Linked DNA regions of Homo sapiens: region 2 is linked to region 1. Evidence: promoter capture Hi-C in 16 types of primary human blood cells and fetal thymus (Javierre and others, 2016). All regions are on one chromosome and are shown on one strand. The core of a region is centred on a gene start or on the middle of the fragment in contact, and the rest is flanking DNA. Distances in the headings are between cores, read along the strand shown.

Region 1 (4,328 bases), core at 597-3,096:
CATGCTAAGGGGCTAGGCATCTGCATCAACTCCTAAGATCCTCAAGGAGACACGGGACTATTGGAAGGTCATTTGCCAAGGTCATAAAAAGCAGAATTGAGATTTGAACCTAGGCTTTTTGCTTTTAGAGATCCTAGAAATGTCTAGGACATCCCTCATTTTCCTTTTGTTGGAGTCCCCTCCAAAGGCCTTTTGAAACTCTCCCCCAAATCTTTCCACCTGCAGCCCCACTCAGTTTCCTTCCTTCCACCTCACCCTGTGGATAGAAAACTGGCTGGCAGGTGTTGCCCCTTGTACCCCATTCCTTTCCTCAGAAAAAAGCCAAGACCCCATATCTCCTGATCCCTACAGTGACTTCCTAAGAGCTTGACAAATGGAAGGTGACCTTCTTCAAATGCAGACACATAAAGTTAATACTCACTAATTATTATTATTGTCATTATAAAAAATGACTATGCGGCCATCACCTGAATTTCCATTTTTATTTTTTTATTTTTTAAACTTTTTATTATTTATTTATTTATTGTTAATTGAGAGGGTGTCTTACTCCAGCAGTGGTGCAATCATAGTTCACTATAACCTCGACCTCCTGAGCTCAAGAGATTCTCCCACCTCAGCCTCCGTGGTTCCCATTTTAAATCTCAGTTGTGAGTCACTCTACTTACCTACCCCCCACCCCCTACCCCAACTCTATGACTCTAGCTGGGAGTCAGATAGATCTGCTGAGGTGTAGATGAGTCATTCATTCTTTCAACCTTTCATTCATTCAACCTTTCATTCATTCATTGAGTACGCTAAGCTTATTCCCGCCTCCAGGCCTTTGCCCTTGCAGTTCCCTCCACCTGGAATGCTCTCTCCACAGATCCTCCCATGGCTGGCTCTTATCTTTCAGCAACCAGCTTAAAAGTCACCTCCACAGAGCAGCCCTGTCTGACAATGTGTCTCCATCCTAGCCATTGTCCATCACATCACCCTGTTTAATTTATTCATAAGACTAATTATTGTCTAAAATGATTTCGTTCACTTCTACACTAATCTTGTTTAATGTCCCCTTTACCCTATAAATACTAGTCCCAAAAGGCCAGAAACTTTTTTTTTTTTCTCCTTGAGACAGAGAGTCTTGCTGTGTTGCCCACGCTGGTGTTTCCTTGGACTCAAGCGATTCTCCTGCCTCAACCTCCCAAGTAGCTGGGACTAGAGGTGCACACCACCACACCGGACTTGTAATTTATTCACTACTGTGTCCCTAGTGCCTAGGATTGGGTCAGCATACAGTAGGTGCTCAAGACATATTTTTCAAATAATGATTCCTATTTCATTTGCACAAACACACGCTGATATGCCAACTCACTTGCCTTTATATGGCGCCCCGCCTGTGTACGTGGGCCTCTGTTGGTCTCTGAGGGTCAGGAGAGGAATCACCCAGGGATCCTCTCCCCCAAGAAACTTGGCCCGCAGTGCATGGCCAAGGGTGAAAGTGACAGTGCTGAAGAGGGGCCTGTCTTACCCTGCTTCTGCTCCTCCAGGGAGTTGATAATGCTTGTGGGCAGCAACGGCAGGTCCACGCTGACCTTCATCGTTTTGCCCCTTTGCCTTCCAGAAGGATTTGCCCCTGCCCCGGAAAAGCAGCAGGTGAGCCTGGGGAGAGACGTGGCGGGGGCTGGCCGCCCCTTCTCCCGCCGGGGTGGGGGCGCCAGGCGAGTGCGCGGGCGGGGCCTGGCTCGCCGGCACGCAGCAGCGCCCCCTCCCGGCCGGCTGCAGCCGCAGGGCCCTCCCCTTCCCTGCCCTCCCCTGCCCGCTGCGGCGGCTGCAGCCTCCGCCCCGCGCGCTTGCTCCCCGCGCCGCCGCCGCCGCCGCCTCCGCCGCTGCTGCCGCACCTGCCACCATGTCGCCGCCGCCGGGTCATGTCTGACTCTCTCTGGACCGCGCTTTCTAATTTCTCGATGCCCTCCTTCCCCGGCGGCAGTATGTTCCGCCGCACCAAGAGGTAGACCCCCGATCCCCTAGACATTGTCCCGGCCCTCCCCGCAAAAGCCGCCGCTCCGGGTACTGCTGCAGGGCGGGGCCCGGGATGCTGCGCCCGGTCCAGCTGCGCCAGAGGTGCCCCAGCTGCGCCTTCCCGCCGGGGTTGGGGTTGAATGGGGGGTGGTGTGGGCCGAGTCTGGGGGGCTTGCACGCTGGAGAGGACGGCCGCGGGGGGAGGGGGCTGCGCCACTGGGGGTTTGTGGCGCCTTTGTCTGCTGGCGCTGCGGGCTCCAACAGCCTGGTGGGGGTAGAGGAAGAAGGGGAGGCTGGGGGGCTTGGCACCCTCAGAACAATAGCCGCAGCCTGGCCTCCCCCCACCCCCATGCCGCGTGCTCCTGGACGCGCTAATATGCTCAGTCACTGCGGCTGTGGGTGAGGGGACGGACGGAGGGGCTTGGGGCTCCCTCTTCGGGAGCTGGATGCTGAGGGGTAGAAAAAAGGGGGGGTTTATCATAACACAACCCCCCCCCCCGAACACAGCCTTACACTGAAAATAGTGACACACAGCGTCACACAGGACATGATGTCACACACATACACACAACAGCCCTAGTGGCCCAGATACACTGGGAGGTGCCACACATACCTAGCCTTGCAGCTGCCACAGGTCAGAACCATGCACAGACACACAGGGGCACCACGTCGTGTACACCTAGTAAGATGTCACTTACATGGCGATCCACACACACACAGTTATGTCATCCAAGATGCAAACATGTGTTTCAATATCCCATCCATGCATCCAAGAATGTCACAACACACGATGTCATATCTAGGTATCTCACATACTATGTCACACTGACATCAGGATAAACAGATGTAGGGATCTTGCAGAGACAGAACCACGCAAAATCACATGTTATCACATTGCAAGACTCACCTAGAGAATGTCAAATGTGGTGACATGTTTGGACACAGTGTCACAAGATGTTAAATTCACACAATAGATGCTACATACACATGGACAAGCATGGTGAATGTCACACCCAGACGGAAGGACAGTATCGGACACAGACTCAGAATGCCACACAAAGACATAGATACATGTAGGGGGGATCATGCATCCTGGCCAGGCATGGTGGCAGGCACCTGTAGTCCCAGCTACTCAGGAGGGTGAGGTGAGGCGGGAGGATTGCTTGAGCCCAGGAGTTTGAGGCTGCAGTGAGCCACTGCACACTGCACTCCAGCCGGGCGACAGAGCGAGACATTGATTTAAAAGAAAAAAAATAATAATAATACAACCTGCCTGTGTTACAGCACACATTGTTATGGACAAGTGGCATTTCACACTGTGTCACATAGACACACAAATGCTCAAATTGTATCACACAAGATAAACCCACGTTGTGTCACACGTATCACACTAGAATGCATTCAGCGTCACACATTGTTGAATTCATACAGTGGATACCACACGTGGATACCTACAGTGAATGTCACGCATAGACTGAGACACGCTCAGTATCACCAATGGTGTCACCTAGACACAGTGACTATCACACCATGACAGACACTGCCCTACACATAATCCATACTGAGAGTTTCTCACACACATGTCATATGCACATCCCCTGCCGTACACAGTCCTGCCGAGGCCTGCACCACCTTTCTTCGAGAAACCCTCCCAGGGAGCCTCCAAACACACATGGATGGGAGATAGGCGGGGATCTGAGACAGGAGGTCAGCTGGTGGGGCTCAAGAACTCACTGGGCTGCGGCCCGGCCCGGCCCCCCTGCCTTACCTTCCCCGCAGCTGCCGCACCAGTAATCGGAAAAGCCTCATCCTGACCAGCACTTCACCCACGCTACCGAGACCCCACTCCCCGCTGCCAGGTCACCTAGGTGAGGCCAGTGGTAGAGACTTGGTGGGTGCAGACTGGCCTACAGTAGGCGGGGCCTCAGGCGAGGAAGCGTGGTCATGCTACAGAAGGGGCGCAGTTTGAATGGAGGCGAACCAGTTTGGATAAGGGGCGGGGCCATGCTTGTGTGGGTGTGGTCAGTCGCAGAGGGACGGTCATTGGGGGGCGGAGACTCAGGTGGGCGGAGACTCAGGTGGGACGGACAGAAAGGAGGAGTCGTACCTGAGGGGCGGGGCCATCCCAGATGAAGCCAGAATCGTCTTGGAAGGGGCCAGGCTGACTCGGCAACGAAAAAATTTAGAGAGGCGGGGCCACAGGCGAAGGGGCGTGGTCTCCCCATAATAGGCGGGACTAGACTAAAGACAGGACATGCTGCTGTTTGCACGCCGCTTTAGGGAACGAGAGACCTGACAGGATTTGCCCCCTCTTTCTCTCATAGGCAGCA
Region 2 (4,328 bases), core at 665-3,164, 140 kb before region 1:
CACACACCCCAAGACCCAGCAGAGGATGCTTCAAAGAACTGGAATTACCAGAAAATTAAAAGGTATTTTTAAAACTTTTTTTTTTTTTTTTAACAAATGGCTTCCAGAGACCTGCTCGAGTTTCATGGGGTGGGCGTGCAGGGACACCCAGCTAATTTATGGAATGTGTACTGAGTGCCCCTTGGAATAGATGCAGGGCCTGACCCTGACTATGGAAAGACACAGGGCTTGGATGGAGGGTCTGGCGCCCAGGAGGGATGGATGGAGCAGGCCCCAGGATGCGAGACTCCAGTCAGACTCCAAAACACAAGGGGCTCCCCAAAGAAGTAGAAAGCAGGGAAGGAAAAAAAGGGAAAAAATGCTAAGGGGGTCTGCAAGGCCCAGTTTTCTGGCCAACTGGGAAGTAACTACACCCCCACCCTCTCTAGGGGAGCCCCTTCCACCTTGACCATGTTCCCAGACTATTCCGGAAGGTTCTCTAGAATTGCTGACCCAGTCTAGTAGGATCTCTGGGCTCACTGGGTACTATGATGAGCAGGAAGTCCCAGGGAGATGGAATAGGGAACAGGGGACACACCACCTTTCCCTTCCACCAAGCCTTGGTTTTCCTTTTTGCTGGCAAAAACCTGTGTCCTCTGTCATCATCAATTAAACGCCCCTGCCCCAGGCCTTGAGTTAAAACTGGGGCCTGAAACGTGAGAAGGGGGTTTCAGAAGCACAGAGAAACGGACTGCCCCTGAAGCTGCTTACAGAGAGAGATGCTCGGGGTAGGTGCCAGTAGCTCTGGCTACACCCAGCTCTCTTCAGGAAAAAGGTCCCAACCCAGTGTCTTCAAAAGCCACTGGAGCACACAGGAAGGAGAAACGGTGACCTCTGGCCAGCCCCAGCCACTCCAGTGGTTCTCACCCTGCGAGCTAGGCTAGGATAAGGACGGAGACACCACCAGCTGAGGCTGCAACAAAGCTGGCAGGGAGTGTGTGGAGTGGGTCCCAAGCATGTGCGTGCTGACAGGGCGACTCCCAAGGTCACCATCCTCCTCCCCCCGCCCCGAGATCCCGCCTGAGGCCCCCCACCCACCCAGCCCTCCCCAGTCACCGCCAATTCCGGCAAAACAGCAGAAGCTTCTTAAACTCTAGATGCAGGTTACACGGAAGGCCTTACGGGTTAACTCAGGGGTTCACTAATTCTACTGTCTCCATGCAGTCGGGGAAATGGTGGAGCGGCTGGCCCAGCCTCGCCGGTTATGGCACCCGCACATGCGTGTGGCCATGTGTGTCCGTGTGAGTGTACGCGTCCCTACGAGGGCCCCCCTCCTGACCTGCTCCTCCCTCACCTCATCCGAAGCCGGATTCGGTCAGCTGTGTAATTCCTCCCTCCCACGTAGCTGGCCCAAGTGGGCTGCCAGAGATGACCCTATTAGAGCCCAGGGGCCCTTGCCCACCAGAAGTCCCCCCCACCTCCCCGTTTGTAGGATGAGCATGGTGGCCCCACCCACCTGCCAGGAGGGCAAGTGGACGGATGGACGGACGGACGGACGGACGGGGAAGGCATCTGGATTTGAGTCCCACTCACTCCTCCCTAACCCCCCTCAACCAGGGCACAGCGACTTCCGGATGCAGCGCACTCCCCAGTAATCCCTCCGACGACGACGCAGACAGAAACCTGCAGGGGGAGGAGGAAGGTCATGGCCTGGGACCTTTCGGCCCCCAAGACAGTGCTGACTTGCCAGCTGCAGTCTCCTTACCTGGCAGTCTCCATGATCACCTAGACCCCATAGAAAGCCGCCAGCCTCTCCTTGAGCAGCGGCGGGAATTGCTCAGAGAACTGCTGCCAGTTATCTTCCCCAACTTGGTCTTTGAAGCCGTGGAGAATCTGTGGGGAGGGTGGTGGTGAGGGGTAGGCAGGGGCAGAACAAGGGGAGTGCGCCTCTTCCCCCATCCCCAGGCCCCATTGTTACCAGATGGTCTCACCCCTGCCTGCTCCCGGAACTAGATCAGGGCCCAGACAGAGCCTCACCTTATAAAACATGTCCCGAAGGTCATCCTTCGGGCTCACCCAGGAGGCTACAGCATCGCAGAAGAAAATAAAGTCCTGAAACGTGACGGATCCCAGGTGAGGGGCCGCCCGAGCCCAGCGCCCGCGCCTGCCCTCAGAGCCCAGCTGCCCCAACCTGCACAACGCCCCCCGGGTTGACACCGATCATCATGCAGATGCCGCGGAAGGCTGAGTCCTTCTCCTCGTTGTCCCTGATGTTCCTGAGGGACGTGCACCTGTGGGAAGGTGAGCAGCTGGAGGTCAGAGGGCAGGCTGGGCATGCATCTGTGGAGGGCTGGGTCACTGGGGATCAGTGAGTGGGCCTGGGACATGCATCTGTGGGGGTGGGGCAGGGCAGGGAGTCAGTAGGCAGATGGGGCTGGAAATGCACAGGCGAGGGAGGGGGTTGGGCCAGTCCCGCCCACCACACAGCAGGCTTGACACGTGGACACACACCAAGGCCGGATGAACTGCTGCAGCATGGGTGCCACCTCCTGGGGGCACACGTAGCCCAAGCGGCCGATGGTGATGGCTGGAATGGCAGAGGGACTCGTCAGGCGACCTGCAACCCCGAGCGGCCCCGGGACGGTACGTGGCGGGGCCTCTGGCACAAGGCACCAAGCCCCGCCCCATGAGCCCCAAGGGAATGGCTACTGCAGCCACCCTGGTCCCCCAAGCTTGGCCCAGCCAGGGGTCCTCCTCATCACACCTGAGTCACTTCCCAGGTCTCTCTGCATCTATCTTTCTTTCTTTCCTTTCCCTTTCCTTTTTGTTTTTTTTTGTTTTGTTTTGTTTTTGAGATGGAGTCTTGCTCTGTTGCCCAGGCTGGAGTGCAGTGGCATGATCTTGGCTCATTGCAACCTGCCTCAGCCTCCCGAGTAGCTGGGATTGCAGGCACGTGCCATTACCCCCGGCTAATTTTTGTATTTTTTAGTAGAGATGGGGTTTCACCATGTTGGCCAGGCTGGTCTCGAACTCCTGACTTCAGGTGATCTGCCTCCCAAAGTGCTGAGATTACAGGCATGAGCCACTGCACCCAGCCTGAGGCTGCATCTTTCTTGGGGCTTCTCCCAGTGACCCCTTCCAGGTACTTCCAGACACCCTCCTTGGTTCCTTGACAAGGCTCTTTCTGATGCCCTTCCCAGCCCAGAACCCCACCTCCAGAAGGCAGGCAGGGGTGCAGGCAGCAGCCGGGCCAGGTGCCCACCTGTGTTTTCCAGCAGTGTCTTGGGTGTGTTGGGTCGGTTAATGATTTCCACCAGGTTGTTGAGGACCATCTGCACATAAGGCTGCATCTCTGCCCCTGGGGGAGCACCCAGTCAGAGCCCTGCACAGCCCCCGCCACCCACAGGGGCCAGGGGGCCGCCCCACCTCACTCACTACTCGCCCCAGTTCCAACTAGAGACTGGCCAACCACTACCAGTGAGGAAACAAAAGACCTTCTCCGGCTAATCCCCACCCAGAATCCCTGGCCAACCAGGGACAGACCCACACCCTCCAAACAACAGAGGCTTCTCTGGAGTCGCTAAGGTGACAACACGCTGCCCAAGTCAAAGGAAAAAAAAAGCCAAAGTCACCCAACCAATCCGAATGAGTCTTTTAGCCAACTACACAAAACGGTCCAATCAGAACAGCCCTCCTATCCCTCCTCTTTAGAGAAGCCAATCACAAATGACCTTTCTGCTTGGCTCCACCCCTGACGACCCCCAAGAGACTTGCCTTGAAGGAAGCTGTCAGTCAGAGCTAGGCTCCCGCCCCCAGGTTGAGAACAGGCTAATGGGGGGCGCGTGTTGCCACTTGCAGGGCACTCACCCATCTGCATGCAGATTTCACCAATGGCCCAGGTGGCGTTGTTGCAGACGGAGATGAACTCTGGGTTCAGGTTGGTGCCCAGAATGGGCATGAACTCGGCTGGTGGGGAGAAACAGGGGTGCTGAGAAGGAGGGCCAGCCAGGGTAAGCTGCAGGACCTAGTCCAGCAGGCCCCATCAGACAGTACGAATACATCCCAATGTGGTCACAGTCATCCCCGGGTATTGCTCTCCATCACTTGAGGCCGGGGCTGGGGTCATGGGTTAGGGACAAGGCGAGTGTCGTACCGATACAGGGCTTGACATGGATGAAGCAGGCTTTGGTGAGGTCTCCCAGGAGGGCAAAGGAGCTCTGCCGGACCTCAGGCATCGAGTCCTGGGGATTCAAGTAAGATCAGTGTGGCTAGGCTCCCCTCCTTCTAACCAGGACAGCTCAGGGGGCACAGTCCCTGGTGCATGTCCAGCCTCTGCCACTTTCCAGTTC

What was found. Contacts are between HindIII fragments. The CHiCAGO score rates a contact against its expected background, and 5 or more counts as called.
Region 2: a fragment that was not itself captured here is called in contact with the fragment with the promoter of MAST1 in region 1 in 1 of 17 cell types (erythroblasts); the score reaches 7.1 in erythroblasts.

The regions. Positions count from the first base shown.
Region 1 is chr19:12,836,669-12,840,996 of GRCh38, forward strand. It overlaps MAST1 (microtubule associated serine/threonine kinase 1), which reads left to right and starts at 1,847. Exons shown (of 26, transcript NM_014975.3): 1 at 1,847-1,987; 2 at 3,778-3,866; 3 at 4,323-4,328. The coding sequence starts at 1,905. RefSeq lists silencers at 1,460-1,643, 1,648-1,827, 1,878-1,927 and an enhancer at 3,834-3,893. The HindIII fragment of the contact is 9,607 bases long and covers 798-4,328 here.
Region 2 is chr19:12,699,582-12,703,909 of GRCh38, forward strand. TNPO2 (transportin 2) reads right to left here. Exons shown (of 26, transcript NM_001382241.1): 19 at 4,133-4,220; 20 at 3,847-3,945; 21 at 3,242-3,337; 22 at 2,491-2,596; 23 at 2,171-2,270; 24 at 2,017-2,091; 25 at 1,745-1,872; 26 at 1-1,662. The coding sequence ends at 1,765. SNORD135 (small nucleolar RNA, C/D box 135) reads right to left here and starts at 4,090; the gene lies at 4,016-4,090. RefSeq lists enhancers at 1,557-2,756, 2,034-2,643, 3,254-3,863, 3,864-4,328. The HindIII fragment of the contact is 1,590 bases long and covers 1,120-2,709 here.